Linked DNA regions of Homo sapiens: region 1 is linked to region 2. The links are contacts of gene promoters, found by promoter capture Hi-C in human tissues and cell types (Jung and others, 2019). All regions are on one chromosome and are shown on one strand. The core of a region is centred on a gene start or on the middle of the fragment in contact, and the rest is flanking DNA. Distances in the headings are between cores, read along the strand shown.

The links. Contacts are between HindIII fragments. The study calls those that stand out against the background at their distance.
Region 1: a fragment that was not itself captured here is called in contact with the fragment with the promoter of RAPH1 in region 2 in 1 of the 25 tissues and cell types used here (mesendoderm cells).

Annotation. Positions count from the first base shown.
Region 1 is chr2:203,716,819-203,722,691 of GRCh38, forward strand. All of the region lies in intron 1 of CD28 (CD28 molecule), which reads left to right. Among named protein-coding and RNA genes, the nearest start is that of CD28, 13 kb to the left of the region's middle. The HindIII fragment of the contact is 6,145 bases long and covers 1,332-5,873 here.
Region 2 is chr2:203,532,789-203,538,507 of GRCh38, forward strand. RAPH1 (Ras association (RalGDS/AF-6) and pleckstrin homology domains 1) reads right to left here and starts at 2,513. Exons shown (of 14, transcript NM_213589.3): 1 at 2,323-2,513. RefSeq lists silencers at 2,282-2,381, 2,452-2,541, 2,592-2,661. The HindIII fragment of the contact is 20,173 bases long and covers 132-5,719 here.

The sequences.
Region 1 (5,873 bases), core at 3,154-5,653, 190 kb after region 2:
CAACTTCTTTACTAAATTATTTATTTATTTGAGATGGGGTCTCACTTTGTTGCTCAGGCTGGAGTGCAGTGGTACAATCACCACTCACTGCAGCCTTGACCTCCTGGGCTCAAGTGATCCTCCCACCTCAGCCTCCCAAGGAGCTGGGACTACAGGCACATGCCACCACAGCCAGGTACCCCCACACCCAGCTAATTTTTGTATTTTTTGTAGAAATGGGGTCTCGCCATGTTGCCCAGGCTGGTTTCCATCTCCTGGGTTCAAGCGATCCACCTGTGTCATCCTCCCAAAGTGCTAGGAGTACAGGTGTAATCCACTGTGCCAGGCCTTTAGTAAATTTATTAATCAGGATTCTATTTCTATTTATATTGTTACCTATAATCATTTGTCCTTGTTCAAACTAAAACCTCTTTAGATTTTGTTTTAAAACCATACTTTCTGTCAAGAACAGTTAATGTGCTTGGTATAACTGATAGTTGTGATATACACAATCTTGGCCAAAGCTGGTTGCTTGGTCTGCTTCTCTTGATGGAAGTCATTGCTTCTGTCATGGTGGCCTCCACTACACAACTCTCTTGCCTTCTGGTTCTGGTAACTTCGCTGTCCCCTGGTCTCTTTCGACCTAAGGGTGGTCATAATTCTGCTGCTGCAAGTCACAGGCTCTGGCACTACCCCTCGTGGTTCTGCTCTTGCCACACCTTTGCCAACAGTCCTTTCATAAATAACCTTCCTACTCTTGCCCAATTTTGTGTGTGCCATCTGTTTTCATTTGGGATCTGGAATGAGACAACATATAGTTGGCCCACTGTATCCACGGGTTATGCATCTTTGGATTCAATGAACCATGGATCAAAAACAGTATTTGTGGGATGCAGAATCTATGGATACAGAGGACCAACAATTGCATGACTTGAGCTTCCATGGATTTTGGTATCTGCAGGGGTCCTGGAACCAACACCCCATGGATCCAGAGGACCACTGTATATGCATGTTTATCAAGCTTATTCAAAGCCCCCTTTTTCTGTGTGAAGAGATTTTCCTTAAATCTTCATTTCTTGTGAAAATGGGAAGACTTTCAAGATAACAGTCAACAGAAAACTAGATGAAATGACCACAGAATTATTTTTAAACCATAACTTGCATTATTATCATTATTATTACCATTTTTTCATTTTAACATGAATTTCTGGGAGAGAGAGGCTGGGTCCATTCAAAGCATGGTAGGTCATGAATAGCTTTGTTTTTATCTTCATTGCAGCTCAGAGAGGATGGTGAAAGGTGCTACAGTCTGGTGAATGTTTTGTACTTCTCTTTCTCTTATCAGAAGGAAGCCAGGCCACCAGCTAAGGTTATCAGAGCCATAGACTGTTGAGTCCCCCTTTCTTCTCAGGGAGCACGGTTTGTCTCACAGTTTCCTGAGCAACCACCGGGTTGTCTTGTGGGGGAGCCTACCCCTTACAGAGCCTGAAAAGGAGCCAGTGGTCAGATGGTCACGTGTTGAAGGGCATCCTGGGCCTGAACAGGAAATATACTCAGAGGAAAGTTACAGTAACTTAACTAGCTCTGTGGTCAGGAGGGAGGTGCTCTTCTATGCCAGGGAAATCAGCATCACCTTCACAGTGTGCTCACAAATATCACAGGGCAAAATGGCTGAAAGTAGAAGCTTTCATTGTTTTTGGTTCCTACCTAACATGTGAAATTCTGTTCAGTCCGAATTTTTAAAAGGAAACAAGATAATTAGAATCTTACAACCTGATTTTTCAACTGCAAAAGAAAGTCAGACTATGATGTGCATAAATGGAACCTGATAAAGTTCTTAAAGATTCTGGAGGAAAATCACATTTTGCTAATTAATCATGTATTCCAGCTCTCTAACTGCTTCTTTAGCTTCCCAGTACGTTTTATTTCTCTATGGTGCTACGATAAAGAAAAGGAAAAACTATGACAAACAAATGTAATTCACAAAAGCCCTGAAGTTAAGGATTTTCCTAGTGAAGTTCAGACTGAAATGTGATTTCATGTGTTGACTCATGTCTATGTTCAATCCCTTTTGTATACTTGGGTAAGCTAGAATGGAAGATCTCAATGGTATAATTATTACTTGTGCATCAGAAATAATTTATAAGATTATTTGATGTGATCATACTGTCTGTAAGCCTTATCTGGGATCCATCTATGACCTTCAGGAAATCTTCAAAATTGTAAGCAAAATGTTTTGTATATGTGCATTAGAGGCAAAAAATTTGGAAATGTATTTTTTTCTAGATATGAGCATGAAATAAATTCAGTCTTGCTGAATGAACAAAGTTGTTTTTCTGTCCATTTATGATTTAAAACATTACTCCTAGATGTCTAAATAAATAAATTACATCTTAGCTCTTCCATTATTTGTGTGACCTTGTTTGAAAAGTCATTTACTTCTTCTCTTTTTTTCCCCCCAATAGCCTCTTCTTTAAAATAAGGAATTGGCATAGATCATCTCCAAGTTCCCTTCCAGTTGAGTGTGGTTTTTTGCAGGATAAGACTCTAATAAAATAGTGGGGAAAATGAAATGTATTTTGTTCTGGTCCTCTTCCCATTCCATTCACTCCCCTACTTAATGGTAATCTCCTCCCTAACCCTCACTCCAGACATCTGGTACCATCCTCCCTATCAAGTCCAACTTTGAGAGGATCTAGAACCAATCACTGCAATTGTGTTGAAATTTTGATGCAACATGGCAGAAGGAAATGAACAATAGATTAGAAGTCATAAGTTATGAGCTTAAATTTCAAGGATCACTTATGTTTCCTGTAACCTTGGACAACTCATCTACCTCTTTGACCTCAGTTTCCCCATGTGTAAGATGGGCATAAAGATGACTGTCCTGCCTATTTACTTCACAGTTGAATATAGAGTTCAGATGAGATAAGAGACAGCATTTTATAGCCCTGTGAATGTAAGCCATAGATACTAAATTAAGCCAATGTGTTTCCCATATTGCATTTTGGGCTTCATTTTCTTTGGAAATCTAAGCATTAACTGAGCTGGTGGGAGGGTCCTTTTAAGGTCAGGGTTCTTTGATGCTGGGAGCCACACCTTAGAGGTGGTTACCACCCCACCTATGCAGAGGGTTGACCTCATTACTAAATATGGTAATTGACCCGTTTATAATAGGTGTAAACGGCAAGAGTTGTTTTTTTTTGTAACCAAGCTTCCCCACCACCCACTGCCATTCTCATGGAAGTTCAAGCAACTTTCAATTTTCCTGAAGTCGGCTGTTTCACAAGATTCACAGATTATCTGTGGGAAATCTTTTAGCTCTCAGTACCTTGCTCACAAGCAGCAGATAAGTACCTTCTCACCTCCAATCTCACTCTTCATGTTGCCTGTTGTTAAGCAGGAGCTGTGAGGGAAAGAGGTTTGAGGTTAGTGCTTCCTGTCTCCACACCTTTAGCTGGTTTAGCTGCTAGGAAAGGCTTTGAAAAGCAAAGCACTAAATTCACCTTCAAAACAACTTGTCAATTCAGTTAGAGAAATGTCAGTCAGACCAATCTTTTGATAACGTAAGCAAAGAAAATGGATGGGTTGACAATGTTTCTTTTAACCTAGTAGGTTTGACCTAGGTAGACCTTACCTGAACACTCACAAGAAGTAAAATCAAATATTCACAGGGAAAGGGCTGGGTCTCCTGATACCCAAGTAGCCTAAGAAGAATGCCTTCCACTCCTAGCATGAACTGGAAAGCAAAAAGAAATCAAACACAAGTTAGGACGAGGGAGCTACATATTTGGGTTTCTTCTGAGTCTAGATATGTCCTTACATTTGTAATATGTCCTTACATTATTTGAAGTACTGTGGATTTTCAGAAACTCAGAGACCGAAAATACATATCAAAGCCAAATGTCATCTGATATTCTGATTATCAGCTACTTTGATTTCTCCATGTTTTTACTTCATAGAGCAAGGGGTGTGCATTTTTACACATGCCCCATTTTAAAAGAAAATAAGAGAAATCAGAATTATTGTGTTTACTCAAAGTCACAATGATCACACATATTCAGTATCACTTAGAGTCACTGGTTATCTTTTTCTAGCACCAAAAGTAAATTTCTCTCATTTACTGTCTTGCAAAGCATATAGAGATTTTGAGGTCCTGTGAGATAGTTTCCTATTTAGGCTTCTCTGAATTATTGACATGAACCAAGGTGGGACCAAATGCTATGAGGATATAAATATTGAGAAACGAGATTTTATCAGCCAACCTTGAACTCAGCTTGAACTCTAAACTAGGAGGCTGTTAGCTACATGTTAACACATAGTAAGCAAACGATTTCAAGCACAGTATCTGTGTTTGAGAGCCAGCTAATTTAAAAATGATCTATGTTGACAAAGAAGAGGGAGGAAAGTAAACATGAGCAATAAATTGGATGGCTTTTCCTCAAATGGCCTTATCGAAAACAAATAGTTTTCAAGCTCTTTTCCAGCAAAATCTTAGCACTTTTCTGCATAAAAGCCTTCAGTAGATCTTCATCACCTTCAGAAGAGAGCCCAAGCTCTCTAATGGAGTGAACTATGCTTGCTCTGACAATCTTGTCTTTTGTAACTCATGGCCCAGCAAAAAGAAGGTAGCTGTAATTCCCCAAGTCGGCCACACTCTTACCCTCCTCATCTCCCTTGCCCAGACTACTCTTTTTCTCTCTTTGTCTTATCCTCCCCACAGTCCCCTAACTCACCCCAGCCCAAACACACACTCTCCCACCTCACCCCAGTCCCCAACACAAAGACACGTCTTAGCCAGGCTAACTTTTACTTAGTAAAAGTTGGTCAAATCCATGTATGCATACTCCTTCAGGACTCAGGTCAGCCGTCATCTCCTGAGATCCTTAGCTGGTTTCCCTGTTGCCCCCGGAAGTTTTGTGCAGATCACTGTGTCACTATGTTTAAAGTAGGGTCTATTTATATCTTTCTTCCCCATCAGATCATGAGCTGCCGTAGGACGGGAATTGAGTGGCATTCATTTTTGGGAAATCAATTCTTCTCTCCCATGTGCATCTTAGGAACATGTCACACCCTGAGTTAGACAGGACATATTCAGCAAACCACTGGACTCTAGATGCCACAGCTTTTCTTCCTTCCTCTCTCTCCCTTCCCTCTCTCCACCTCACTGTGTGTGCTGGGAGAGGGAGTCAAACTGGGGAGCCATCTGGGGTTTCTCTCCAGCCCACCCACACTCCCTTTTTTTGTCTCCACAAAGAAGTCCTATTCTCATTCCCATCTTTTTCTTTAAATCAGCTCACAAAGGCAGATCAGGAAGAATTTGAATGTGCATTAAAACAGAATCCAAATAATTAGCAATAGAAACACAATTCCCAGGGCGGTGAGCAAGCAGAATACAAATGCCTAACCTGCACTCACTCTCTGAAAAGGAGGAGAGATGCAGGCATTGCTTGCTGGAGTTGGTTGCTCTTCCAATTAGAACTGACCTAATGACTCCTTCTAAGTAAAAAAAGGAAACAAACAAAATAAATCAAAAACAAAAAAACAAATTGGATGTTTGTATTAAGACAGGTCGAACTTTTTGATTCTTTGCATGTTTATTTTTCAGTGCTTTTGCAAAATATTTGTGGAACAAATAATAGGTGAAGTTAAAGTTGTTGACACAGGTTTCCAAAAAGGATTTAATGAGATGGTAGTCAAACCTAGCTGCTGATAACAACAATACAGCCGAATCACCATCTTTCACTCCACAATTATTTTATGAGAGTCTATTAGTCATACTGTGTTATGTAAAGAAGCATAACATGTGGTCCTTTCTGTCAAGAGACTTGGAAACCAGGGGCCTAAGGGAAATGCACATGAATCCAAAGCTAAGCAAATTGAAGCATGTGAAA
Region 2 (5,719 bases), core at 1,263-3,762:
ACTTCTCATTTTATAGGTAAAGGAATTAAGAGTCCAAGATAAGTTATCTGCCTGAGGTCACATCTTGCTTCACTAATATTAATTTTCCTAAAATTAAGTGTTTGGGATTAACAATACTAATGTTGACATTCAATTACTTCCAAACCAAGGCAACCAAAGCCATGAGATTCTACAATGTGTAACCAAGAATCTGTGAATAGTGTGACAGTTATCCACGATGCCAATCTAGTAAGTATTTATGGGGTGAGCACCAAAGGGCAGCAAAACCAAAAGACATAATCATCCTCAAAGACAATGGTTAAAAACACCTCTTTGGAAAATAAAGAGTTAAATATTTGTGAAAACACACCCAATAGTGCCCACTACTCCACTCCTTTCACCCAGTCACATACTCTATAATCTTAGTGAGACCTCTGAGTCTGAAAAATAAGCTGCTGCTTCTACCAAATAAAGCTAACGTTTATCATAAGGCAACATCTACAAATAATTCTTTATTACATTCAAACAGGAGACAGCAATCTAAATTATACAAAATGTCTAACCCAAAAAATCATGAATTAAGCTTTTTGTACTTACTTGAGTAGGGCTGCATCTGGTTTCTGGGAAATTCACCACACAAAAAGCAAAATAACGGAGACAATCTTTGAAGGTCAGACTCAACAAGAGTTAAAAGCTATTGAGCGTCTCTATTTTGCCCCTCCCCCAAAGGTCCTCCCCCTCAATTCGGCTCTCAAAGGATAGCACCACCATGTGAAATGTCCTCCTCCCCATCTGAATCTGCTGAAATCCTACTCATCCTTAAAGGTTTCACTTAAATGCCGAGGCTTCCATGCATTCCTCCCTCAATTTAGAATTAATCTCTCTTCTTCGCTCTCCTATTCTATACCTCAACATTTTACTATATAGTTCACTGTATTACACTTACCTACATTCACTAACCCCCCGCACCGCACCCCCAAAAAAACCACCCCGAGGAGGAAAGGAATTTAAGGTGCTGTTAAACACCTCTATGCCAGGCAAGGTGCTACGCATTTTGCATACATTATCTCATTTAATCTACATGAAAAACATCTGGGGAGGTAAACAGGTGGTGTTATTCCCATTTTACTGATAGGGAACGTACTGCAGAGTTCAATAGCTTATCCAACTCACATTGCAAGCCAATTCCAGGGCGTACGGTTTCCCCCACTCCGAAGAGCTCTTTCCACCACCCCATGCTTGTTCACCTGGTGTCACCCAGCCTAACTGACAGAGTAGGTATTCCATAAATGTTTGCTGAATTTAATATCCCCATGGACTGACTCTTTAATAATCCGATCACGCCTCATCCCTAACCCGTTACCTTTACTGTTCCTTAACGGTGGACTTTACCTACATAAGCAGCTCTCCACATTTCCCTGAGAAATGCTGCAGACAACATCAACCCTTATTGGAAGATTGAGTGAAGAACTTTTCCATTCTCCCGGATTTCCCCAACGGATCTTCCCAAAGAATTTAAGAAATGCACACACGCAAGACACATGTAACACTTACACCCTCCCTCAAGGCTCTTATTTCATATTAAACCATGTCTTCGAGCTTGTAAGCAATAAGGTTTATGCGGTTTCCAGCTCACACAGTGGGGACACCCTAAGTCACTGCCTTAAGAAAACCACATCTTTCAACCTGTCTTAACACGAAGGCATCCTAATACTATCACACTGCCCCCTCCCTCCGTCCACCCCCCCCCCCCCCCCATGAATTGCAGTTTGGATTTCCGGCGGGAATGTATAATACAGACCGCAAGAGGAGACGCGGTTAAAAAGCAATGAAGCAATTACTTATCCTGTTTAATTAGAAAGAAGACACAGAAGGAGCCCCGCCTTTCAAAATCTCTGCACTGAACTCATCTATGAAAGATGGGGGCATCGAAACCCAAGCAACCCGACATCCAGTAGCTGGTTTCTGCAGCTGGGCGGGGGAAAGTCCTTTCCTCCCTGCGGTCCCGGGCCACCAGCCCCCGGTGCTGGGTCGGAGAAGCCTAACCGCACCCTCCCAGGCGGCCCCTTATCTCATTGTCTCCCTCCGTCGCGGTCCCCAGGGGCGCAGGGTGCAGTCCAGGCCCCACCGACCTCCATCCACCAGCCGGGAGCGGTCCAGCCAGCCCCGGCCCGATCCCCAACCTGGCAACGACCCCGCCCCAGGCTGCCGCCGACCGTACCGCACCCGGATGGCGGGGCCGGGCGCCGGGAAAATGGAGGCGGGAGCGGCAGGAGCGCCTCACGGCCCCGCGCCCAGCCGGCTCCCTACCCCCTGGCCCCGAGGGCGAGGCTAACCACTCACCGCGGCAGTCGGTCGGCCTTCCCGCGGCCCCGGGCAAGGAAACCGCCGCTCGCGCTCCTCCAGCCGCTGCCTCCGCCTCCTCCCCAGGCGCGGCGCTCCCTCGCCAGAGACGCAGCGACTGCCAGCAGCTCCCGCGCCGCGCGCTCAGTGACTGACTGACTGACTGACTGACTGACTGACTGACTGACTGGCGGGCGGCGGCGGGAGCGGGGGCGGGGCGGCCGCAGCGCCCCGCGGCGGCGGCGGCGGCGGCGGAGCCGAGTGTGCTCGCGTCCAGCCGAGACGCAGAAGGCGGGGTTGAGGGCCGGACTGCCGACTGTAGGGCCGACTCGCGCGGGACCGCGCGCCGCCCCCGCCCGCCGCCAACCACTCACTTCCGGCGCAGGCCGCCGCGCCCGCCGCCCTTCCCTAGCCCGCGCCCCGCGCCGGCCCTCCGCCCTCCCTTCAGGCGCCCGGCCGCGCCCGGCCGCACTCAACCGCGGCTCCGCTCGTGCCTCGCCTTTCCTCCGCAAGTCCCTGTGAGCCGCCTACAGGAACGAGTGAATCAGAGAATGAATGAGTGGGGAGGAAAATCCCAGTGCTGCCCCACCCCCTGCTCGCCTTTCATAGGAAGCCGGCCCAGCAGCCTCTGTCCTAGCGCCCTGGGAGGCACAGCAGCCTCCAGCAGTTCTGTCAGGGAGCTGTACGCATCCACCTTTATACGCTGTCCGTGTATTCAGAGACTCCAGAAACGCATCCGGGGTTGGCTCGGTCACTTACAGGACCATTGTCGTTGAGATCTGTGAGGCCCTTCTTTAGGAAATCCCATTTTGGCCAAAAAGTCTCTGCAGTTTCATGGAATGTATTGGGAAACTTAGGAACGGGACATTTCGATGACCTTTACTTTTTAAACTTCGAAATCTGTTAATCCTGCCTCCTTAATTTCTGTCCCCCCACCCCATCGGAATTGTGTAGTAGTAAGGTGTCGGCATTTTTCCTTATCGCTAAGCTCAGCTGCTGCCTCTTTAGATGCAGGCTTGACTTCGGCAGACTTTTAGATTTTAAGTATGTCCTTATTTTGACCTTCACCTAAAGTTGATCAAAGAAAGGAACAAATGGAACTAAGTTATGTTTGCTTGGCTACATGCAAAGCAAGTTTGTTGACAGCATTAAAACAATTGAGAAATTGGGAGTGTGACCTGAAATTGGTTGCAATGAACATTGCTTTTTCATGTCTTCCCATCTGCTTGCTAAGAATTTATTTAAATTTTCACAAAGCATTGACTGTACATTCCTGAAATCCTAGCTCCCTCTCTAAGAATGAGAGTGTTCATTTCTCTGTCCTGGGGCCAAATCCTGGTTTGGTTAATTACATTCTTACTTCCTGATATTCTTGAGGACTTTCAAGTGGTTTCAGTCTTTTTTGTACAATCTGTTCCAAACTGGTACACAATCTGTTTCAAATTGGTATTTAGAACCATACAATACAGATACTGGCTGCCTTTCACACTTGAGATATCTGTACTTTTGAAACATAACTGCCCTTTTGTATTTTAAGTTCAGTAGGTATGTCAATATTCTTGTATAGAATAATACTATCTCTTGACTGGATTAAGAAAATGTGGCACATATACACCACGGAATACTATGCAGCCATAAAAAAGGTTGAGTTAATGTCCTTTGTAGGGACATGGATGAAGCTGGAAACCATCATTCTCAGCAAACTATCGCAAGGACAGAAAACCAAACACCACATGATCTCACTCATAGGTGGGACTTGAACAATGAGAACACTTGGACACAAAGCAGGGAATATATCACACAGGGGCCTGTTGGGGGGATGGAGAGGGGGGAGGGATAGCATTAGGAGATATACCTAATGTAAATGATGAGTTAATGGGTGCAGCACACCAACATGGCACATGTATACATATGTAACAAAGCTGCACGTTGTGCACATGTACCCTAGAACTTAAAGTATAATAAAAAATAAAAATAATAAAAGAATAATACTATCTCTTATAAATGAAGATGATCCTGCTGACCAACTTCTTTTAGACTTCTCTTCCTTTCTTGTGGGAATCATCATTTGCCACCTAATTATTTCAAGAAGTTATCCTCCAAAAGTGAATATAATACAACACTTTATTCATCCTTGTATCTCCCACAATATCTAGCATAGTATCTTGCACAATAAGTATTTATAAATTAATAAATGCTTTAAAATTTTTCATAAGTGATAATTTTATACAAATGTATCTAGTCTTTCACCTCATTTCCCTTGTGACCAAGTTTGTTGACATTAGACACACCTGGGTGCCAAACTTAATGAATCCTATTGTCATTAAATGTACTAGGCTGTGTGATACCTTACAAGGAAGATGATTCATTTAAACCTCCTTAAAAAAATAGACGATTGAAGCCAGGAGTGGTGGCTCGCACCTGTAATCCCAGCACTTTGGGAGGCTGAGGTGGGCGGATCACCTGAGGTCAGGAGTTGGAGACTAGCCTGGCCAACATGGTGAAATCCCATCTCTACTAAAAATACAAAAATGAGCTGAGCATGGTGGCGGGTGCCTGTAATCCCAGCTACTCAGGAGGCTGAGGCAGGAGAATCACTTGAACTTGGGAGTGGAGCTTGCAGTGAGCCAAGATCCTGCCATTGCACTCCAACCTGGGTGACAAGAGTGAGACTCCATCTCAGAAAAAAAAAAAAAATAGACCATTGAGTGCCTTTTACATAGGTCTTAGCCAACTCTTCTCCAAGTGCTTAGCCTAAGATCAAGGTTAATTAAAAGAGAAAAAAGGTCACTTTCAGTCATTGAGAAAAGAGTGTTCTCATCAGTTTCTTTAAACCATTAAATCATTCGTTCATTCAATCAGAGTTTATTAAGCTACAATTAAGGCCCAGGAATACAAAGACAAGAAAGACGTGGCATGATGCTTCCTGCCTACAAAAAGCATACAGTCTAGTGGGTAAAGCAGGTAAGGAAGTCATTGTTAGACTGGAAGTCCATTACCAGATCAGGAAAGCCTTCCTGATGGGGAGATTCTTGAACTGAATGTTAAATGATAGGGAGGAGCTAACCAGAAGAAGGAGGGAACAAGCATTCCAAACGAAGAAAACAATATCTCTGCAGGTGTGTGGAAGCACCAAGCATCACCATGCTTTAGAGGCACCGTAAGTGTATTAGTCCGTTTTCATGCTGCTGATAAACACATACCTGAGACTGGGAAGAAAAAGAGGTTTAATGGACTTACAGTTCCACATGGCTGGGGAGGACTCACAATCATGGCAGAAGGTGATGAGGAGCAAGTCACATCTTACATGGATGGCAGCAGGCAAAAAGAGAGCTTGTGCAGGGAAACTCCCATTTTTAAAACCATCAGATCTCATGAGACTTATTCACTATTATGA